Regions from separate parts of the Homo sapiens genome. Here regions 2, 3 and 4 are each linked to region 1. The links are contacts of gene promoters, found by promoter capture Hi-C in blood cells and fetal thymus (Javierre and others, 2016). All regions are on one chromosome and are shown on one strand. Each heading gives the region's core, a stretch centred on a gene start or on the middle of the fragment in contact. The rest is flanking DNA. Distances are from core to core; before and after follow the strand shown.

The links. Contacts are between HindIII fragments. The CHiCAGO score rates a contact against its expected background, and 5 or more counts as called.
Region 2: a fragment that was not itself captured here is called in contact with the fragment with the promoter of ZNRF2 in region 1 in 1 of 17 cell types (naive CD8 T cells); the score reaches 5.5 in naive CD8 T cells.
Region 3: a fragment that was not itself captured here is called in contact with the fragment with the promoter of ZNRF2 in region 1 in 2 of 17 cell types (neutrophils and total B cells); the score reaches 8.0 in neutrophils.
Region 4: a contact is called between a fragment that was not itself captured here and the fragment with the promoter of ZNRF2 in region 1, in 1 of 17 cell types (naive CD8 T cells). The highest score is 5.9, in naive CD8 T cells.

What each region holds. Positions count from the first base shown.
Region 1 is chr7:30,280,817-30,286,201 of GRCh38, forward strand. ZNRF2 (zinc and ring finger 2) reads left to right here and starts at 3,781. Exons shown (of 5, transcript NM_147128.4): 1 at 3,781-5,010. The coding sequence starts at 4,542. LOC124901607 (a long non-coding RNA gene) reads left to right here. Exons shown (of 3, transcript XR_007060274.1): 3 at 3,383-3,438. It overlaps LOC105375218 (a long non-coding RNA gene), which reads right to left and starts at 5,269. Exons shown (of 4, transcript NR_136267.1): 1 at 5,244-5,269. RefSeq lists silencers at 3,627-4,056, 4,067-4,116, 4,197-4,586, 4,667-4,746, 4,897-5,026 and 1 more. The HindIII fragment of the contact is 18,269 bases long and covers 1-5,385 here.
Region 2 is chr7:30,508,177-30,513,799 of GRCh38, forward strand. No RefSeq gene overlaps it. Among named protein-coding and RNA genes, the nearest start is that of GGCT, 6.2 kb to the left of the region's middle. RefSeq lists an enhancer at 3,972-4,473. The HindIII fragment of the contact is 7,857 bases long and covers 1-5,623 here.
Region 3 is chr7:30,116,679-30,122,201 of GRCh38, forward strand. It overlaps a transcript of PLEKHA8 not described here. Among named protein-coding and RNA genes, the nearest start is that of MTURN, 16 kb to the right of the region's middle. The HindIII fragment of the contact is 1,953 bases long and covers 1,149-3,101 here.
Region 4 is chr7:30,061,420-30,067,187 of GRCh38, forward strand. PLEKHA8 (pleckstrin homology domain containing A8) reads left to right here. Exons shown (of 14, transcript NM_001197026.2): 11 at 478-608; 12 at 1,253-1,323. Among named protein-coding and RNA genes, the nearest start is that of PLEKHA8, 36 kb to the left of the region's middle. The HindIII fragment of the contact is 671 bases long and covers 2,624-3,294 here.

The DNA.
Region 1 (5,385 bases), core at 2,531-5,030:
AAATCCCACAGCCAGTGTCAGACAAAGCCAGGGCCTAACCCCAGCTTGAGCTCAACCACTTCACGGCATGTACTTTTAATCCTGTCATGATTGGCTCTTGTCTTTTGCTTCTCATTAAAAAACTAATACAAGTACAGGGGAGGGAGGATAAAAATTTGTTAAAGACATTACATAAACTTTTGATGTTTTCTGAACAATTACCCAACAATGTGACTCCTAAATACTACAAACTAAGATTTTGAATTTAAGATGTAAGTTTCTAATCACCACTAAGATCTTGGACAGTGTATGTAGGATGTATTAACACATATGTAGGATGTATTAAGATTCATTTTAATGTTTAGATGGTCCATTTGTTTCTTTAAAAAGCAAAATAATAGGAAAATAGGCCTATTTAAAAATAGGCAATTATACATATAGTCCTATTTTGGTAGAGATGAGGTAGTGTATGAACACTTACTTGAAAAAAAAAAAAAGCAAAGCCATAACCATCTCTTAAATCCTATAACAAGGGGAAAAGTGGGATGGCAAAACCTTAGCAAAATGTGTAGGGCTACTGCTGGCTGCAGGACAGCCCTGTAGAGAGGCTGTGGTCCCCGACCAAGAGGACTAATGGGTGTCACTATGCAAATTTGCTGTCCCACACATCAAAGGTCTGATCCAGCAGAGTTTTAAAAGAGAAACCAAGAGAGGAAAGAGGAATGCAAAGGAGAGTAAGGGAACACAAAGGGAAGAGGCTTGCCCCAACTAAACTTCAAACTAGACAACAACAAACTGATTGGTCAGGCATTTTTATTGAAAGCCCAGAAGTAGCTTACCTGTTCCAGTGTGAGTTTGTGGACAATAATTTTGTCAATGTGAAGTGCTTTAACAATACATTCAGACTAATTTTGCACCCCCAAAGCCTTTGGTCAAAATATCATTGAACTGCATCAGGAGGAATATAGTGTATTTTAAAACCTTCAAATTTGAAAAATTTTAAAGAGCTGGGGCTCTGGTCTCTTGATAAGTGGTGAAGGCATTAAAACAACAGTTCTGATTGTAGAGGAAAGCGTCATTTAGACCAGTGCTTCTCCAAACAAGAGTCCGAAGTCTGATGGCAGCAACATCACTGGGCAGCTTGTTAGGATGCAAATTCTCCAGGCCCAACCCTGAGCTATGGAATGAGAATCATTGAGGGTGGGGCCCAACAGCCTGTTTTAACAAGGTTTTCCTGTAATCCTTGTGTGTGCTAAAGTTTGCAAAGCACTGATTTAGACTACTGTTTATCAAAGTGCAGATTACATCCCCATAGGGGGGTGTAAAATCAATCCAATAAGCAGTGACCAGCATTTTACAAAAGTGAAGTCAAATAGAAAGCAGAGTGCATTTCAGGTAGCATGGGTATTATCTCAAAAACCCGTTGCAGTTCTACATGTGTGTATACCTGTGTGTACTCATTTGGATGAAGCAGCACTTTTAATTTTTGAAGAACTGGTAGGTATACTAAAGACGTGATGGCCAGGCATGGTGGCTCACGCCTGTAATCCCAGCATTTTGGGAAGCCGAGGCGGGTGGATCACAAGTTCTGGAGTTAGAGACCATCCTGGCCAACATGGTGAAACCCTGTCTCTACTAAAAGTACGAAAAAATGAGCTGGGCATGGTGGCACGTGCCTGTAACCCAGCTACTCTGGAGGCTGAGGCAGGAGAATTGCTTGAACCTGGGAGGCAGAGGTTGCAGTGAGCCCAGATCGCACCACTGCACTCCAGCCTGGTGACAGAGCGAGACTCTGTCTCAAATAAATAAATAAATAAATAAGCGACACATTTTCAACGAAGTCAGAACTGTTTGGTTGACAATAACACACATTGACAGCTTCATGCTGGTGACTGGAGAGAGATGAGAGGGGTGAGGAGAGAGGAAAGAAGGCCAAGGAAAGAACATAGAAGGCCAGCATTTTATCTCCAGAACCTTCGTGGGGAAAGAAACAAGGCTCACCAGAGAGGAGGTGGAAGGGGCACCCACCACAAGCGAAATGTCAAGGAGAATAAGAACATGATAAGTTAATGAGTGACATTCAAGAAAGAATCGTTTTAGTACAACTGGTGAGGATACATGTATTCACTCACTCATTCATTCATTCATTCACAAAACATTTATTGCACCATGGCAAGACCAGACACTGTGTTAAACACTGGAGGTACAGACATGAAGTTTATCATGGAGCCAATTGAGTAGTGACAAGCAAGATATCTAATAATAATAATAACATGATCAGAGCTATGAAGGAGGTATTGTACAGCACTGAGTGGGAACACTGAAGTCAGTCTGTGATGCTGGGATGGGGGAGGAGGTGGCAGGAAACATCTATAAGGAGAGGGCACTTAACCAAAATGATGACCATATCTTAACATGATACTGCATATAAAGCACTGGGTACCTTTGTTTTTCCATGTATATATGTGTGTTTGTGTACACAGATACACGTCTTTATATGTATACATATATTCTCCATTTGTTTAAAAACTTGATTCCCATACCCTAAGAGTGATGAAAATCATTACATAAATGACTTATTGCAAATAGTGAAAAGATGACAAAGTATTTCTGTAGTTTTATAAAACACCACTTGCTATTATTATTTTCAAGTAGAGACTAGACATTTTCATAATGGGAGTCTCAGAGCAGGCTGTTCCCTGGGTATCCAGACCCTGCTCTGCCGTGAAGAGACCACACCAACACTGAGGAAGGCACTGAGGAGAATTTTATTACATTTTAGAGAAGTTATAGGATTTTAAAGAGGCAGGTGCCCTAGGATTTAACACAAACAGTTCAGGTAAGAAACCTAAAGTCGGCCTGGTGCGGTACGTCACGCCTGTAATCCCAGCACTTTGGAAGGCCGAGGCAGGTGGATCACTTGAGGACAGGAGTTCAAGACTAGCCTGGCCAACATGGTGAAAGACCGTCTCTACTAAAAATACAAAAATTAGCCAGGCGTGGTGGCACGTGCCTGTAATCCCAGCTACTCTGGAGGATGAGGCAGGAGAATCGCTCGAACTCGGGAGGCGGAGGTTGCAGTGAGCCGAGATCACACCATTGCACTCCAGCCTGGGTGACTGAGCGAGACTCCGTCTCAAAAACAAAAACAAAAATAAACCTAAAGTCCAAAAAAGTAAAATAATTTGCTCACTACAGATAATTTAGTTTGGTGTTGGGCCTAGATTCTAGGTTTTGTGAGTCAGGTGCAGCGTTCCTGGCACCACAGTATTTGCCCTACCACAGAGGGTCAACCTGGATTATCCCGAGTTCTTCCAACTCTGCGCTTCCTCCCAGGTTGGTGTTTCATGAGTAAGTCTGAGATCAAGCTGGCTTTTGAGCTTCTGTTTTTTTTTTTAATCAGTGTGTAACACCAACACCCACCGAAACCAAACGGCTCTGGGCAGAGGACACAGCCATTCACGCCCCCTGCCAGGAAAAGCTGCAGCTGACACAGGCTCCTACAGCGTCGGCGGGCCACGTGCGGGAGGAGGGGCCGCCTTCTGGTTGGCGCCCGGTGTCCGTTCCTCCTATCGGCGTAGGCCCCGCGAGGAAGACAAGGGCGCGCCCTGGCTGGGAGGGCGTGGCCAGAGACCTGTCCATCACCGAGTCCACGAGTGGCAGCACCTACCACACCGCAGTACCTTGGCGAGGCGGAGCAGGGGCAGGCAGGTCGCGGAAGGGGGAGGCGGAGCAAGGCCGGCGGGAGCCAATCGGCCTGGCGGCACGAGGGGGCGGGGGCGGGGTCAACGCGCGCGACCCAAACACACGGGCCGGGCGCACCCTGCAGCCGCGCCGCTCCGCGGCCTTCCGGCGCGGGGCCGGGGAACCTCCTCCCCATCTGCGCACCCCCCGCCTTCGCGGCCCAGATCCTCCCGCCAGCCCGGCCCCTCCTTCGCAGGGGGAGCGAGGCGACGGTTGCCGGGAAGCGCGCGCCACCTCTCCCTCCCATTTTTCGTTCTCCCCTCGCGCGCCACCCGTTTTTCCTCTTTCTCCGTTAATAACAGCTGGGTGGCTGGGGGAGGAGGGAAGGTGGCCCCGGCGGAGTCTGGGCGGGCGCCTCCCACTCAGCCGCCAGCCGCCGTGGGAGCCGGAGGATGGCGGCGGTAGCAGCGGCCGCCCGAGAGGAGGCGGTGCCGAGATCGGGGGCGCCGAGCGCGGCAGCAGAGAGCGGTAGCGGCCCGTCGTGGCGCACCAGAACCGAAACCAGCGGCAGCCGCACGGCCACTTGAGCCGCCCCTTCCTGCTGGAGCCAGCGAGGGGTGCCTGCAGCCGGGACCCCTTCCTCTCCGCGTCTCCTCGTCTCCCGCGCCCGCGTCAGGCCGTCGGCCTCGCCCGCCGCCCCAAGAAGAGCGCGCCGGGCGCCGACTGCCCCTCTGGACGCCGGGCGGCGGCCCTGGACGTGCGGGGGCCTCTCTGGGCCGGCCGCGGCGCCTGGGCCCTGCCCTCTAGCTCCCGCGCTCGCTCCCGCCCTCCCGGCTCTCGGGGCGCAGCGCGCGGGCCCGGCCCGGGGCAGGGCGGACATGGGCGCCAAACAGAGCGGCCCGGCCGCCGCTAACGGCCGCACGCGCGCGTACTCGGGCTCGGATCTACCTTCCAGTAGCAGCGGAGGCGCCAATGGGACCGCGGGCGGCGGCGGGGGCGCTCGGGCCGCCGCCGCGGGGAGGTTCCCGGCTCAGGTGCCCAGCGCGCACCAGCCCAGCGCCTCCGGCGGCGCCGCGGCGGCCGCGGCGGCCCCGGCAGCCCCGGCGGCCCCGCGCAGCCGCTCCCTCGGCGGGGCCGTGGGGAGCGTGGCGTCGGGGGCCCGCGCGGCGCAGTCCCCCTTCAGCATCCCGAACAGCAGCAGCGGCCCGTACGGCTCGCAGGACTCGGTGCACAGCAGCCCTGAGGACGGCGGCGGCGGCCGGGACCGGCCGGTGGGCGGGAGCCCCGGCGGGCCGCGCCTGGTGATCGGCTCCTTACCAGCTCACCTCTCGCCGCACATGTTTGGAGGTACGGACCCCTCTCCGCGCACCCGCGCTCGGTCCTCCCGCGGCTGCACGTGGGCCGTGGCCGCCGGCTATTTTTACCCTTCTCCTTTTCTCCTTCTGCCGGGGCGCCGGGGGCTGCCTCCCGGACCAGCCCGCGTCGGTCTCCATCCTGGAAGAAACCCGGCGCTTAACACCGGCGGTGCCGCTACCGCATAGACGCGTGGTTTTGTTTTTAAACATCCTGAGCACCCTCACCTCAGCGGCTGCCCAGTAGAGAAAGTCTATTTTCCAGTGAGATGACTGGAGCAAATGTTGTTTTACAACAAACCGACGAAACAGCCCTTGTGGTTGTGGTTTTTAGTACCAGGAAGTCAGGAGGAGACCAGTTGCTAAATGT
Region 2 (5,623 bases), core at 1,927-4,426, 230 kb after region 1:
ACCCTACTGAACACATGGCCCAGTGTCTTCAATAAGTCAGTGTCATTAAAAAGAAAAAAAGCAGCACTGAGGGATGGCTGCTCTAGATTAAAAGAAATTTTAAAAATGTGGCTGGGTGTGGTGGTTCACACCTGTAATCCCAGCAATTTGGGAGGCTGAGGCAGGCAGATCACAATGTCAAGAGATGGAGACCTTCCTGGCCAACATGGTGAAACCCCATCTCTACTAAAAATACAAAAATTAGCTGGGCATGGTGGCATGCCTCTAGTCCCAGCTACTCGGGAGGCTGAGGCAGAAGAATTGTTTGAACCTGGGAGGCAGAATTTGCAGTGAGCCAAGATCACGCCTTTGCACTCCAGCTTGGCAACGGAGCAAGACTCCATCTCAAAAACAAACAAACAAACAAACAAACAATAACCAAATGTATGGCTTGTCCTCTGTTGATTCTGGTTTAATAAGCCAGATATAAAAGATATTTCGGGGACAACTGAAGAAATTTGAGTTTTCACTGGGGCATTAGGTGATATTAGGCAATTGTTATTAGGTGTGATAATGGTATTGTGCTTCGGTAGAAAAATGTCTCTATTTTTAGACATGTATACTGGCATATATAGGGTTGAAATATTTGATACCTATATTTTAAGATAATTCAGAACAAAAAAATACAGAAAGTGTTAAATGTTAAATGTAGTGATGTACATGGATGTTCATTATATTTTTAATGTATATATGTTTGAATATTTTCATGTTAAAAAAAGAACAAGGAAAAAGGTGATATATGGAAAGCCCTTGCCATGTAGTGAGCACTCAATAAGCAATAGCATTATTATTATTATACAATCTGCAAATAGGAAGATTATTGTGGGATCTGCCCCGCAGCCCGCAATGCAATGGGGCTCTTTCCTTGTTCACGGGCAGATCGGCAGGTCGAGAAATAATAGACGCACACAAGATAGTGAAAACTGGGTCCAGGGGGGGTCACCATCTTCTGGTCCCGTGGTGCCGCCAATGCACTGGATATACCAGCATTTATTATTAAGTTTAGTGAGGTCAGGGGTAGGTTAGTGAGGGATTTAGGGTCGTTTGATTATGAGGTGAGATAGTCACATGGAGATGAAGTAATTCTTTAACATAACATCTATATGCAGAAGTACAGTATACAGAGATAAGAATTTACATCAGTCATTTCTAACAGAGCCTTGAAACAGAAACACAGTCTGTCCATAACCTATGATTAGCAAGATATTAATCAGCAGTAACTGTTGCAGCAAAAGCTGGTTACAAACAATCCATGGAAACAGGACGTGAAGCTAGACAACCGGTTAGACCAGAAATTCTCAGAAGGGAGTATGCCTTAACCCTAAAGAGGCCTAGAAGAGCCATGGCAAGATGAGGGTGTTTGTAGCCCTATCTTATCCATATGAACAGGTGCCCCTCATGCATCTGCTTATAGGCTCTCCACAAGCGTTGCATTCCATTCCCAGAGCTCTGAACATCTGCTTTTCTGGGATAGGAATCTTGGTGATGTGAAACCTCCCTGACTGCACGTCTGTTCATAGGCTCTCTGCAGGGGGAAGCACATCACGCGCTGTTGGCTCATTCTGGCAGCCCAACCTGGCATTGTCTTTACACAATCCTGCATGCAACTTTGTATTTACAATAACCAGGAGCATTTCATCTTTTATTCTGTAGCAGTAGTTTCAGGGGGTCTCCCTACAGAAGATAATACCTCCTCCCACCCCTCAAACATCTAGGCAGAACTTGAAATACATACTTGGTCATTTCAGGGAGCAAGTTGCTTTTCCTGGCAAATCATATTCTATTACACCATAAATTCTCAAGGGTCCTATTTTAGAGCACTGCAATTTAAAATGTCTTGCTTTTCAACTGCTCTTAAGAATCTAAAATGTGCTTATTATTTAATTATTGTTACAGATATTTAATTTCTCTTCCTATACTTCTTGCTAATTACTTAATTTCATGACAATTGATTTTTCTCAAGACTATTTTGCAAAAATATTCATAAGTTTAGCATTGATATTACCCTCAACGCTGAAAATCTTTCCTTACTCCAAGCACTTATTTATTTAGCTTCCCCACATAGATGGCAGTGTACTGACCCAGGTTGGCCAGCAAGGGGCAGTAGGTAACAAAGTTACCTACACAAAGTTGTGTTTTTGTGTTTGTTTTTTCAAATTTAACCAAAGCCAGGTTAATATTAGTTAACATTCATTGAGCACTTCTGAAATGCCAGGCACTGGCCTAAATTCTTAAATGTATTAGCTCATTTAATCCTGAAAATAGTCATATATGGAAAGTACTGATATTATTCTCCTTTTACAGTGAGGAAACAGGCATAGTAGGTCAACTAACTTGCCCCAGGTTGTAGTTAGCAATGACTGAAGCAGAGATTCAGCCATGCAGTCTGACTCTAAGTCACTACTGGGTGCTGCTTCTCAAATTTCTAACAATTGTAAAACCTTGGTGCTCTAGATATATCTAGTTATTAATAGCCCACTTTCAAGTACAATCATTATCTACAAGATTATTAAATAATGATTATAGCCTTCAATCACTTGATAATAAAGACAATGAGATCAGATTTCTTCTTAATGTCATCTTTTATTTTTATTTTTTGAAGCAAGGCCTTGCTCTGTCTCCCAGGCTGGAGTGGTGCAATCATGGCTCACTGCAGCGTCGACCTTGCAGGCTCAAGTGATCTTCCCACTTCAGTTTCTTGAATAGCTGGGACTACAGTTGCAACACATCTGGCTAATTTTTGTATTTTTTGTAGAGATGGGGTTTTGCCATATTGCCCATGGCTGGTCTTGATCTCCTGGGCTCAAGCGATCCCCTCACCTCAGCTTCCCAAAGTGCTGAGACTACAGACTTGAGTCATTGTGCTGGGCCCTAAATACCATCTTTTAATCCAGTGGTCTTTAAAGTTTTTTGATTGTGCCATTAAAAATTTTTGAACACACACAATTATATGTTAATATTAATATATGATTATAATAGTATATAATTATATGTATATTAATATATAAAATACATTCTATAATACCCACAAAATAGAAATTTTAAAATAAAAAAGCTATTTTATCTGTCATTAATTGTGGTAGTTTCAATCAATCATTGGCCAATCTCAAGGGAAATACACATATAGGTCAAAGTTAATTATAAGTTATAGTAGATGGAAATTTTATTGCTAATAGCCCTCCTAGGTGGAGAGCTAAATTCTTATATGTATCATTTTGGCTGACCTTGTCAGATGTTACTAGATCACCATTATTTTTACAACACAATGAATGTGATGAGGAGCTTGTACCAGAAGTATGAGAAATGTCGGCTCTGTCCCTTTCTTTTTTTCTTTTCTTCTGCTTACAATTTTGACAAGAGTTCCTGTCCAATTCTTTGCAGAAATCTTTTAAATTATGTTCCCATTTTGTGAGAGTTAATTCTCTATAAATCTGTTTAGCTAAGCCCAGATAAATGACAGTAAATACCAAGATAAGGAAAGCGACTGACTGAGAGCCAGAGCCACCATCAGCCTCTTCCCCAGGGGAGGCACTCCCATTCCTCCTCAGGACACCTTTTATGTGACAGATGATGACTGCCTGGCTAACTGAGGGTTCTACTGTTTTAGTAAAGCAAAATTCTTATATTAGTGTATATTTACTAAATATAGCAAAGTATAGGAAACAAAATTCTTTCTAATATTTTAGATTAAAAATTAAAATAGAATTTGTTTTCACATCTCAGCAGATCAACTTGCTCATCCACTTTCAATAGCATTGTAATCAGTTTTAGCATTTATCATTTTCAGAAGAGCATTTCAAGGAAAGACATTGGTACATCATAGCAAGTCTGAAGAGTTATATGGTACAAAGGCTGTGTGTCTGCTGAGGAAGGCCAGCTGTCTGTGCAGGCAATGCCATTCAGGGGCAGTAGAACTCTAGTGGTATAGACAGAGACTGGGTCTCATGAGTCTGTGTCTTAGCTCTGTGGGCTGAGAAACACAATCTTGTCAGTACTACCAGAGGGGGCAGATTCACACTAAGCAGACTCATAAGAGATGGATGTACACATCAGAATGTCAGTTTGTTGACATGCAATGAGAACTGTAACAGATAAACCATGTATTTGTGTTCACAGATCAATGCATTTTCTTCCACTAGGAAAATAAATCTAAATGAGGCATGAGTTTATTAGCATGACTGAGGTCAGGAGGTCAAGTGATTAGAGTGGAAGGAACAAAAGCAGGAGCAGTAGGAGATGAGGTAGAGAGACAGGCAGGGGCTGGGTCACGTGGGCCCTTGAGGCCATGTTAAGGAATCTAGATTCTAAGAGGTCACAAGCTATTGGGGGTGGTTTAGGTAGGAATATAATCTGATTTTCAAAGGGATAATTCTGCATGCTGAGTGGAGAATCAATTCTAAGGGGATAGAAATGATAGTTAAGAAATTAGAAAAGACAGGGCCAGGTGCGGTGGCTCACGCCTGTAATCCCAGCACTTTGGGAGACTGAGGTGGGTGGATTACGAGGTCAGAAGATGGAGACCATTCTGGCTAACACAGTGAAACCCCATCTCTACTAAAAATACAAAAAAATTAGCTGGGCATGGTGGCGGGCGCCTGTACTCCCAGCTACTCGGGAGGCTGAGGCAGGAGAATGGCGTGAACCCGGGAGGCAGAGCTTGCAGTGAGCCGAGATCGCGCCACTGCACTCCAGCCTGGGTGACAGAGTGAGACTCCGCTTAAAAAAAAGAAAAAGAAAAAGAAAAGAAAAGAAATAAGCAAAGACAGTCCTGCAGAGGTTTAGACAAGGGTGGATGGTGGCTTTGGACTAGGGAGTGAAGCTGGGAAAAGGATGGATTTGGGTTGCTTTTTTTTTATGGTAGAGCAATTAAGACTTGCTGGGAGATTAGATAGGTGATTCCACGCTTACCAAACAACCTTCCAGCTGTAATTTGTCTTCTTAGTAGGTTTTTCTTCTTAGAGAAGGAAGCACTCGTCAGGGAACATAGGGATCTGATATTTCTACTGGTTCCAGTTTTCTTCCCTGAGAATGTGTACCTGAGTCTAAGAGGGTTGGGTCTCTCTCTCTCCGAGCACCTACACATTTGAAACACTCTGAGCTGGTCCCAGCCACGTTAGACATGTGGGCTGAGAAGTGGAGGAAGATGATCTGAGCTACAGAGAAGGAGAAAGCAGACCACAGCTCAAGCAGAGAAGGGAGCTAGAGAAAAGTGCTGGGCACATTTGAGTGCTCACTCCAGCTGTCAAGACCCAGTGGAATTTCTCACTGTAGGTTTCACAGACACTTTCCTAAGTCTTATACTCCAAACCACACTGGGAATGAAATAAAGATTCTTATTCAATGTATCTATTAATGGTTTACGTGGAAAGCAGTGTATCTAATTCCACAATAATATTTTAGAGTGTATCTTAAAGACATCTGGCTCCAAAAGTAAAGTATTTGGTTGTGCCTGCATTAAGGTAAATATATATATATATATATATATATTTGTATTTATATATTTGTATATATTTATATAGATATATATATTCGTGATCTAGAATACAGAGTAATCATCATTAATTATATATGGTCCCAGGTTATA
Region 3 (5,523 bases), core at 875-3,374, 170 kb before region 1:
TCATTGACTGTTCTGAATAACTTTATATTTCCGGTCTCCAATTTGCTGCAACTAAATCTTAGCTACTCCCCCATTCTGGCTTTCTTGTTGAAAATTGCTCTCTGAGCAAAACCTGGAATGTCTGAAGTCGTTCCCCAACACAGTTGCTAGAGATGGGCTGTGAAATAACAGAATTTAGCAGCAAGTCTCTCCACAGGCCAGTGTATAAAAAGGATCTGAAACCTAGGCTGGGAATGACAAGTATGCTAGAGGGAATGGCACTCCCCTGCCCGCCTTCCAAAAGCAGTTTGGCTTCAGGAGAGTGGGTGTGTGTTTCACTTGGTCTTGCAAATGTAGGTCTAACTTTGTCACCGCCTTTCCGTCTGCCTTCCAGCATCTGTGCCCAGTTGACGTAATGACTGTGGAAGGCAGATTGAACGTTATTAAGGAGACAGCCTGGAAATTGTGAGAGGCAGGCAGGGTCAAGGATAGAAAGCATTTTTGGGAGACTGGGGTTCTCAGCTCACAGTAATTGAGAAATCGATTCAAACTCATGCCATACAATGAAATTATATGTGTGTGTGCATTTCCTAGAAGTTACCCCATGGCCCTTCCCACTTAAGTTAGCACTATACAATGTCTTGGCCAAATGAATTTGAGTTCCAAGTTAGGTTCTTGAGACTTAAATTAGTTCCAAGTTAGTTTCTTAAAATTTGTAGTAGAAATAATAGCCTTAAAATGTAATTTATTAAAAATTAAATTTAGGGCCAGGCACGATGGTTCCTGCCTGTAAGCCTAGCACTTGGGGAGGCTGAGGTGGGAGGATTGCTTTAGCTCAGGAATTTGAGACCAGCCTGGGCAACATAGTGAGACCTTATCTCCACTAAAATAAAAAAATTAGCCAGGCATGTTGGCACACACCTGTAGTCCCAGATACTCAGGAGGCTGAGGCGAGAGGGTCACTTGAGCCCAGGAGTTCAAGGCTGCAGTGAGCCATGATCATGCCACTGTACTCCATCCAGCCTGTGTGACAGAGCAAGACCCCCCTCCAGAAAAAAATTAAAATCTTTAAAAAACAACAGTTTTGATTTACAACTGCCAGAATTTATGAGAAAAATAATTTTAAGTTTCAAAAGTTTAGTGTGCACACTAAAAAAATGAAGGCACAAAGCTTATGTTGCCAACAAGATATTAGAAACAGAAGTATAACTACACAACTCTACTTCCTGTAGATTAAAGATTGCCAAGACTTTATTCATATTTTTATTTTTTAAAAAATTTAAAAACTGAGACGTGGATTCATTTCTAACAGGGACACACAAATGTCTGATGGTGGCCCAGGAGGGCTGTCACTCAGAATCAGGCGGGTGCAGAGTGGCCTGCAGGACATGATGACCCAGCATGAGACAGGATGCATCACATCTGGGTGACGCCTCTCTCCAGGGGATCAGCCTGGACTAAATGCCTCTCCTGGGCCAGGATGCCCAGCAAGCCCCGAGATGCCTCCTGGAGAGAAGGAAGTATGTGAGAGTATCCTGAGTTAAGTGAGATCTAAAATGCCTGAGAAAACCCTGAAATGACTGAGTCTATCTGGAACTTATTTGATTGTTTTTCTGCCATCAGATAGAATGAGGTCTCAAAAGAGAAATTAAATTATATTACAAGAAAATAAAGCTCAATTGCTTGCCTATTTGAGTTTGTGGCCTGTGAAAATCTTGCCCACCAAACTACGAGAAGCAACATGAGGGGCTTTATAATAACTCTGCAGGTAGGTGGACAGCTCATGGAATCCAAGGGGAAAGGCATGGGCTGGGCTGAGAAAGGACTAGAACCAGGAGCTGAAAGCCATTGGGATCTTTTCTTAGCTGCCATGGCTGCTTCTTACTGCATATCTTTCTGTCTTCTCTCTCTGAGGCCCATCTTTCTTTTTTTTTTTTTGAGACGGAGTCTTGCTCTGTCGCCCAGGCTGGAGTGCAGTGGCGCGATCTCGGCTCACTGCAAGCTCCGCCTGCCGGGTTCATGCCATTCTCCTGCCTCAGCCTCCCCAGCAGCTGGGACTACAGGCGCCCGCCGCCACGCCTGGCTAATTTTTTGTATTTTTAGTAGAGACGGGGTTTCACCGTGTTAGCCAGGATGATCTCGATCTCCAGACCTTGTGATCCGCCCGTCTGAGGCCCATCTTTCTCCACGTCTCCCATTCATCTGACAGAATATAGTGGCATCAATGCCTAAGTTACGTGACACAGTTTTAGCCACATGCAGATTCTACCTTTCTGTATCTTGGCCTCATTCCCAAATTCTTGTACAAGAATCTGATTGGCCCACTTAAGTCCCATGTCTGTCTTCCTCCATTCAATCAATGGTGGCCTGAGGGGCATTGGCCCGTGGTACAGACATGACTGCTGTGGGTTCATCACCTCGGGTCAGGGGACAGTTCCCAGGGAATTGGAAATGGCTGTGAGCTGGGAGGGCACCCCAAAAGATGATGACTTCTGAGTCACTACGGGACCTATCCCTCACTTTTCCCATCTAGAAAATAGAAGGAATAATATCTGTAATATTCCTAATTTTAAGTGAAGGCAAAGGGAATTAACATGTATTGACTTCTTTCCATGTAGGAATCTGCATCCTGAAAACAACCCTAAGAGGTGGGCATTTTAATTTCCTCCTTTTTAGATGAGAAAATTGATGCATGCGGAGGTTAAATCTCATAGCTAGTACATGAAAGCTCAGATCTAAACCCAGACAGAACCTGTGCTGCAGCCCCGGAGGCAGCTGTTATTAAGATTGAGATAATGTCTCAAAGCCGTGCATTACATTCTCAGCTATTAAGAAACTGCCGAGGACAGTATCTTATATGTAGTAAATGCTCCGAATTGGAAGTCTCATTAATAAGAGCACTCTCCATTCAATTGCAGCAGAAGTCTTACCATCACAGTGTTTTGCTCACATTAATCCACCAAACACCTCTGGGAAGTGGGCACCCATCTCCTTTGGAGAGGTTTCTGCCAAGACACATTTTATTACAATGAAAAGGGAGATGAAAACAGCCGCTTATACCTGTTTTAACTGTAATTGACCTTCAGCCACCATTTTGCTGCATCAGATTCGAGAGCTTCTAAAGCTTCCACCCTGCTTCATGTTGAGGTGTGAATTTGTCACCTTAGGAGCCTGTTGTCACAGTCTTTAGGATGTATTTATGTGCTCTGATCTTCTGGCCTCCTGACACTAAATATAACTCTTTCTTATTGGTACTCAGCTGATATACACAACTCAGGCTCTTTTTGTGAATGTTTGCTGAATGAGAGATTTGTTAACACCTACTGTATTCTCAGCTCTGAGAATATTAAACCTCTAAGATACAATGCAAGCCTCTGAGAGCAAACAGTCTTCTCTGTGCTATCAAAAAGCTAAGAACTTGGTCATTAGGGAAATGCAAATCAAAGCCACAATGAGATACCTCTTCATACTCAGTAGGATGGCTGTAATACAAATAATTAAAAAAAAAAAAACAAAAAAAAAAACAGAAAATAACATGTTGGCAGGTGTTAAAAGAAAAAACTTTAGACAAATTAAATTTAACAGAGTTTAACTGAGTAAATAACAATTTGAGAATGGGGCAGCCTCTAGAATCAGGGCTGCTACATGGTGGGCTAACATTTAAGGACAAAAAAGGGAAAGTAACGTACAAAAAAGCGGAAGTGAGGTACAGAAACAGCTGGATTGGTTACAGCTCAGCGTTTGCTTTATTTGAATACAATTTAAACAGTTGGCTGCCTGTGATTGGCCAAACTAACACCTGTAAAGGAAAGCAATATGCCTATGATTGGCCAGAACTCTGCGATTGGTGCAAGTGTAGGTTACAACAGTCTGTTTACATATCCAATTAGGTTTCAGTTAAACATTTAGGTTGGACCTAAATATGTAAGGAGGCAGCTTCAGGCTAAACTTAATTTAACACAGTGAAGTGGAGAAATTGGAAAAAACACAACTAAGAACCAATTTTAAAGTCACCAGTCAGGTCTAGTTTGGGTGAAATTAATGCATGTTCACTTGAGAGCATTAGTTGAAACTTCCTGTAATTCAGTTGGCTTGATTGGTGGCCACCTTGCTTTGGTTAAAGATACAAATAAGGGACTTCAAACACCGTAAGTAGGTTTCTGATCTGCTTCTCTGAGCATTAGTACCACAGGTAGAATGATCATGTAACTGATCATCCAAACTGTGACAATTATTTCCAAGACAAATGCTAAAACAAAAAGGACAGTGGGACAGAAGGCCAACCCATGGTTGCCTTTGCTGGAGGAATACTAGTAACATATTGACACCAGAGAACTGACTTTTTCTTTACCAAATCAATCATAGTAGATTTTACGATTAATCTATTTAATCTGTGGGAAAAATGTAACAATGGCCCAACGATAGAACCAAAGGATACATACTGTGATTTACCAGGAAGCAGCAGTGGCAGGGTTCCACGTGAAAAAATAGGTATCTTTTTCTCTTTTTCAGGTTTGCCTCTTTTTTGACCCACGCATGCTTCCGTTTTCTTCCATGGGAGGTTGGTCAGAAAGTGGCAGCTCAGGGTAGATGTCAGGAAGACAGTGGTCGGAAACAGACCCAGAGAGGGATTTGGGCCACCATGATAAGAGAGGAGTGGCCAAAGGGATGAAAAACTTACAGTTTATTGGCTGGGCACAGTGGCTCCCACCTGTAATTCCAGCATTTTGGGTCGCTGAGGCGGGCAGATCACTTGAGATTAGGAGTTCGAGACCTGCCTGTCCAACATGGTGAAACCCCCTCTCTACTAAAAATACAAAAATTATCCGGGTGTGGTGGCAGGAGCCTATAATCCCAGCTACTTGGGGGGCTGAGGCAGGAGAATCGCTTGAACCCAGAAGGCGGAGGTTGCAGTGAGCAGAGATTGCGCCACTGCACTCCAGCCTGGGCGACAGAGCGAGACCCTGTCTAAAAAAAAAACCCTACAGTTTATTGATTTCCTTTCCTTTACAAGGAAAAAGAGTTGGCTGCCTTCATGTATGACTTTTAATCTTTGTATCTCTGCCCAGAGGCACATTTTGGAGATGATGCTGTTTAAATTTCCAAATCAATAAATAAGCAGGGTCAAAGATCCAAAACTAGCAAATTGCTATTTCCAGGAAAAGATGCTGGCCTTGTCAATGTGGTTCTGTCCTGCACATACCAGGGAGTTCACACTTTTCCTGCCCAGGCCTAGAGTTGCTTGGAGCTATTCATTCTACAGAAGTGCCATCCAACTATCTTGGTATGATTGCCACAAAGAACTTTTGAAGAGGGCTGAACTAGGTGGGCCTTAGAGACCTATAAAGGAAAGTAATATGCCTAGATTTTTATATGTGTATATAAAGCACTGTAAGAGCTATGACTAAAGAAATGAGAATGTCAGTGTGAAACTTTTTGTGATTCTGCCTGGGCGTCCATCAGATGGCCTTTCTTCTAAGAGGTAGAATCAGAACACATTGGCTTAGAAGCTGCTGTAGAAAACTGGCCCATCTGGCTATTCTA
Region 4 (5,768 bases), core at 1,709-4,208, 220 kb before region 1:
CCCCTTTTAAATGCAGATTAAATGTTACCTTCTTGAGGATACAGTGCCCAATAAAAATCTTTTTTGTCATTGGAGACTAGTCTTTGAGGAAGCACTATTAGGAATTCCTGTAGGTATACCTTTCTTTATTGTATTTAGGTGGAACAGTTGCAAGTAGTCTCATTAGAACAAATGATTGTTGAGTTTTATATTCAGAGTGAAAAGTATCTGCCAAAGACAAGCATGAGAGAGGTTCTGAGGCAGAAAAAATAACTTTAAGAACAAAACTTTAAACCCTGAGACTATTTAATTCCAGTTTAAGCTACATAGAATTCTCCAAAACAAATACTATCATGAAAACATAAGGAAGAAGGTAATAGGAGCTTAATTTATTTTCTTAGAGGCCTGCTTGCCAAACTTACAAGTCTCCAGACTATACTGAGTTGCTTGATAACTTCAGCATTTTAAACTTAGGTTGTTTCCCTGCTTTCCCTCCAGAAAGTAAATCAGAAGTATATAACCAACAAAGAAGAGTTTACCACTCTCCAGAAGATAGTGCTGCACGAAGTGGAGGCGGATGTAGCCCAGGTTAGGAACTCAGCGACTGAAGCCCTCTTGTGGCTGAAGAGGTGAGGCAGCTGGGGTGGGACAGCAGTTAAAATCTAGCTCAAAAAAAATTACCAGCAAAAAAAATTGTTACACAAAGGAGACTACTTCTGAGTGAAGGATCTAGTTGAATTGTGTAGCCTTTTCTAGAAGGCCTAATGAATAATACCACCTTATTTTTTTTTTGCCTCTCTTTTGATGGTGATAAATATTGTTGATAAGTATATATAAGATAGGAATCTTAAAGGCATTAAAGTCAACTGGCTTCTCTTTAAATCAGTGGCTCTCCAACTTCAGTGGCATCAGAATCATCTGGAGGACTTGTTAAAAACACTAGACTCGGAAACAGTTTCTGATTCAGTAACTCGGGTGGGGCCCCAGAATTTGCATTTCTAGCAAATTCCCAGGTGATGCTAAAGCCACTAGTCCTGGGACACATTTTGAAAACCACTTCTTTAGGTATATCAGATGAGATGAAAGATGGGCTCCAGAGCAAGCTAAAGGGAAGTGAAGGGAAGAGGTTCAGGAAGGACTGCCATATGATTTGACCTATTCACTGCTGTGCCTAAGATGTTACTGAAATGGAAGCTGATGTCTGCCATTTCTTTATACCCACTCAACATAAGTGAACTTTGAAAATAATATTTCTTCCTTTATTTTGTTTTAGAGGTCTCAAATTTTTGAAGGGATTTTTGACAGAAGTGAAAAATGGGGAGAAGGATATCCAGACAGCCCTAAGTAAGTGTTCTTTATGTTTTGTTGAATGAGTCAATAGACTGTGGAATGGAGACCCCTAGAGGAGGATACAGGGTATAGGGGATATTTCTGCTTTTCAGAATTTGATTTTGTTTCTTTTCTTATTTCATTATTATTCATTGCTTCTTATATGCTTTGTTTAAAAGTACCTATGAGACAATGACCTGGTAATCTAGATGTAACTTACTAAAAATCAGTATATTTTAAAGACGTGCTGAATAAGTGGAAAGCCATCTCTTAAACATAATAGGAAGACCTAATATTATCAAGAAGTTAGTTTTCCTAAATCTTCAAATATATTATAGTCTTTGAAAATCAGTATACAAAGAAAAGCTTGAACACCATAACAGCGGGTTGGCGTGGGGGAATCCCAGGGATTTGTTCTGGAGTAAGAGTAAAGGTTTTCGTCGTCGTCGTGTAACTCCTCAAATATATAATGCTGTGTGCGTCCCAGTTTCTAGTCATAAAGCCAAAATGGGATGAAGGGCTTGGTCAGAGGAGATCATCTTATATCTCCAGCACCTTAAAGTAGTGACTGCAACATTGTAGGTGCTTAATAAACATTGGACAGGTAGGTAGATGGATGGATGTGTGGATAGAGCCATTTATCAGACCAGTTTTGGAAAATGTTGAGATTGGGGAGCATCCTTAGAGTGCTTCTAATGGAGTGGCTGAACTCTCACCATTGATCTATAGGAAATTCTTCTAGCATGGGCCATGAGGCGTGTGTGGAGAAAAAAATGAACTGTGACATAAACTAATTAGATGCTTCTGGTTTGAGAGGGAGCTAGTGTTCTCTGTGGCTTTTTTTCAGTGTCACAGTTGGGTTCTACCTCCTTCTGTTAGTCCTCTCTCTGGGCCATGAGTCCTCAAGAATTCTGCCCCCACGTGATTTCCCGAGTCTGCCCCATCTAGCAACTGCTGATCTGCCATAAAAATGAGAGCTGACATTTCTATAGCACTTTGTGAACAATGTAGACTTCATAAACTTAATCCTCATTTCAATCCATTTTTACAGGTTAGGGAACTGTAAGATTAAAATATTGCTTAAGACCAGCATAAGGTCTGAAGCAGAGTGGCTTTGAGGCCCCTGCTTTGAAGGTCCACATTTCTCCTACAAAGGGTCTTTTCCACCATTCCTGGGCCACCTGCATTTTTACATTCCCCATACATCCCTGAATTTCAGGATGGTCTCAGTTATATTCTCCCCTCTGTGTCCTGATTTCAAGTACTAAAAGTATATTCAGCATGTCTACTCATGCCCCCTAGCCAGTATCTGTCAAGCTTTATGGCTTGTGGAGTGTAGGATCAGGAGCTCTGGAGTGGCTCTCTGGATTCTGCCACTTATTAGTGCTCTGCCCTTAGGCAAGTTATTTAACCTCTCTGATCCTCACTTTGTTCATCTATAAAATGGGAATGGTGATATTATTTCCCTAACAAGGTGGTTGTAAATATTAAGTAGGTGCATGTGCATGTGAAAAAATTACAGAAGTATTTGGTACGCAAAACACTCAGTGTGGCCGGGTGTGGTGGCTCATGCCTGTACTTTCGGAGACTGAGGCAGGAGGATCACTTGAGTTCAGGAGTTTGAGACCAGCCTATGCAACACGGCAAAACTCCATCTCTACAAAAATTAGCTGAGTATGGTGTTGCGTGCCTGTAGTCCCAGCTACTTAGGGGGCTGAGGTGGGAAGATTGCTTGAACCCAGGAGGTCAAGGCTGCAGTGAATTGTGATCATGGCACTGTACTCCAGTCTGGGCAATCGAGTGAGACCAGACCCTGTCTCAAAAACAAACAAACAAACAAAAAAACAATGCTCAGTCGTCAAGATTAGCATCTATTGTTGTGATAATGATGTTTTGTCATCATTATCATAATCATGATATATGAAGTTAATAACCTGCCAGAAAATAAGACTTATTTGTCCCACATCAGTAATGGAAAGTTTACAAAGCTTAGGTGCCAAGCCAGAAACTTCACTTCAAACTAACTTATTAGTATGGAATTTTCATGCTAGCAGAAAGACTTCTCCACCTGTTGGAAATGCAGAAGATACAGGGTTTAGCACTGTGTGCCCAGTGGACTCCGCTTGTCTCATGCTGCTATTACTTTGTTAGGGCTGTCTATGGAAGGGGAGTAGGACAATGCTGATCCCATTTAGCCCACTGGAAGAGCTGGGGTGGAACGGAACCCAGCTGCTTATGGGCTTTGACCCCCCTAGACATAGAAAGGAAACAGGATATACCATTTCTATCCAGTCCCAACCCCAATTCTGCCCACTTTTCTCTCTCCTTTTCTCCTCAAGGTTTCTCATCAAATGTTGTACTTGATTTGGAGACTGGGCCCAGGGGATGTATTGACTTTGTGAAGAAAGAGGAGACTTTGAAGGGCAAATGCTGCTTTGTGACTGCAATAATCACAGCCAGTCTCAGCTTTTTCTTCCCTCTCTTCTCCTTCGGCACAATTTTCAATGGAAAAGAGAAGGGAGGCTGTAAATTTGACATTTTTGTCCTGATGTTCAGGCTTATTTCAAAGAAGGTGTTTATGATTTAAATCCTATCTTTGTGGAAATCCCTAGTTTCTTGCTGCTGCTTAGTATGAGGAGATAAAGTTCCCCTATTAAACCCACCCTCCCTCCAAAGTTCCCCTGTTAAACCCACCCTCCCCTCCCACAGACACAGACACAACAAGCTCTGCGTAAACGGTTTTTTGAGAAATGTTTACACAATAGTTACTCAGAACCTGTAGGCTCCTTGATGCATATTTCTTCTGGGATAATGGTTCCTTTTTCTCATTTTGAAGTCCCAGCCTTCATAAGTAGAACTGATACCTTGTTTGAAATGAGGGAGGGTGAGTGAGTAGGTAAAAGAGAGTGTGTGCAATTTATATGCCATATATAGGCAAGTTTGTTGGCTTTTTTAAATTCTAAAGTTGAATTTAAAAACAGCTATCACTTACAGAGCACCCAGTGTAACTACTACACTAAGTTTTTGATAAATATTTTATTTAATCTTCCAAATACTCTCCAGTGAATAAACTGAGGTTTAAAGAGGATAAATACCTTCCCTAGGGTCTCAAAATCTCCATCGGTGGTTCTCAAGCTGTTCCAAGGTCAGCAGCATCTTTATCACCTGAAAACTCATTAGAAATGCAGACTATCCGGTTCCACCCCAGACCTGCTGAATCAGACACTGAGGCTGGGGCCTGGCAGTCCGTGTTTTAACAAGTCTTTCAGATGATTCTAATCCATGCTGAAGTTTGAGACCTAGTCATCTAGACTTAGGCCTTTGAGGTTCACCTGTCACTTGTCTACATCTTGATAATTTTGTGATTTTGACTGCATCTAAGAGATTTTTAATAAGCAGGAGTAAAACTGCTGAAATTAGTTATAGCATCAGTTTATTTTCCTCCTTTTCATCATAATTAGACAGCTTTCCAATAAAAATACTGCTTAAGTAAGGTTTGAGGTGAATGTTCATGAAACTTGTATGGTCTTAATGGCCTTGGAAATAGTACATTTATATGTAGAAGTCCTAAATAACATTGTAGAAGCCTTGTCTCCTTTACCTTTCTGGAAAATGCATCTCTAGTTATTGTATTGCTGCAGTTCTGTGACCTGGAATACTTCCAGCATCTGGAAGGAGCCTTAGACTTTACACTGCCCCTTTTTGCACTTGAGCCATCACTTGGCTTCCCCATAATGATAATCAGAGTGGAACATTTTGGGTGGTTTCATGCTAAGAGCTGCTGTGTTCCCTTAGTGTCCTAACATTCTTTAGAGGTCATTTTCAGGAGGGAGTTGGGTTCACAAGGCAGATATGTTTAATAATCTGCTTTAGAGCTGAGTCCCCCTCTCCATTGCATATTCCACATCAGAAAGAGGTTTTGGAAAGCATCCTTGCAAGTGGAAGGAAGAAAAGTTGCTCTGGCATTTCATGCACCATTGTATTAAATGTTATATGCTCTGTGCTCAGTGGGATAACATATTGCCACATATCTCATCTCAGAATGATCCCATAAATGTCAGTAAAAGTTAACCCAACCAAGATCCTTTTCTGGCACAGAATAGAAAAAATTTTAAAAGGATGCTCAGTCATGTATTTAATATGAAAGGCTTTCACAGATAAGGAGAGATAAGTGAGAGAGATAAAGTCAGAACTCATAATCAGATATTTGACATCAAATCATAAGTTGGCCATTCTGAAAATACTATGGAATGTGAATTGTAATACTCTTTCCAGAACCATTTGCAGCATATGCCTCCACTGGCAGGATTGGCTGGCAGCACAAGCGTTAGTCTTAACAGTGCCTGAAATTAACAAAGGGCATCTCTGGGTGCTTGTTTGACCTCTTTCCACTGGTTATTGTCCATACAAGTCAATTTGCCTTAAGCATAGTCACTATAAAGAATTCAGAGGTTACTCTC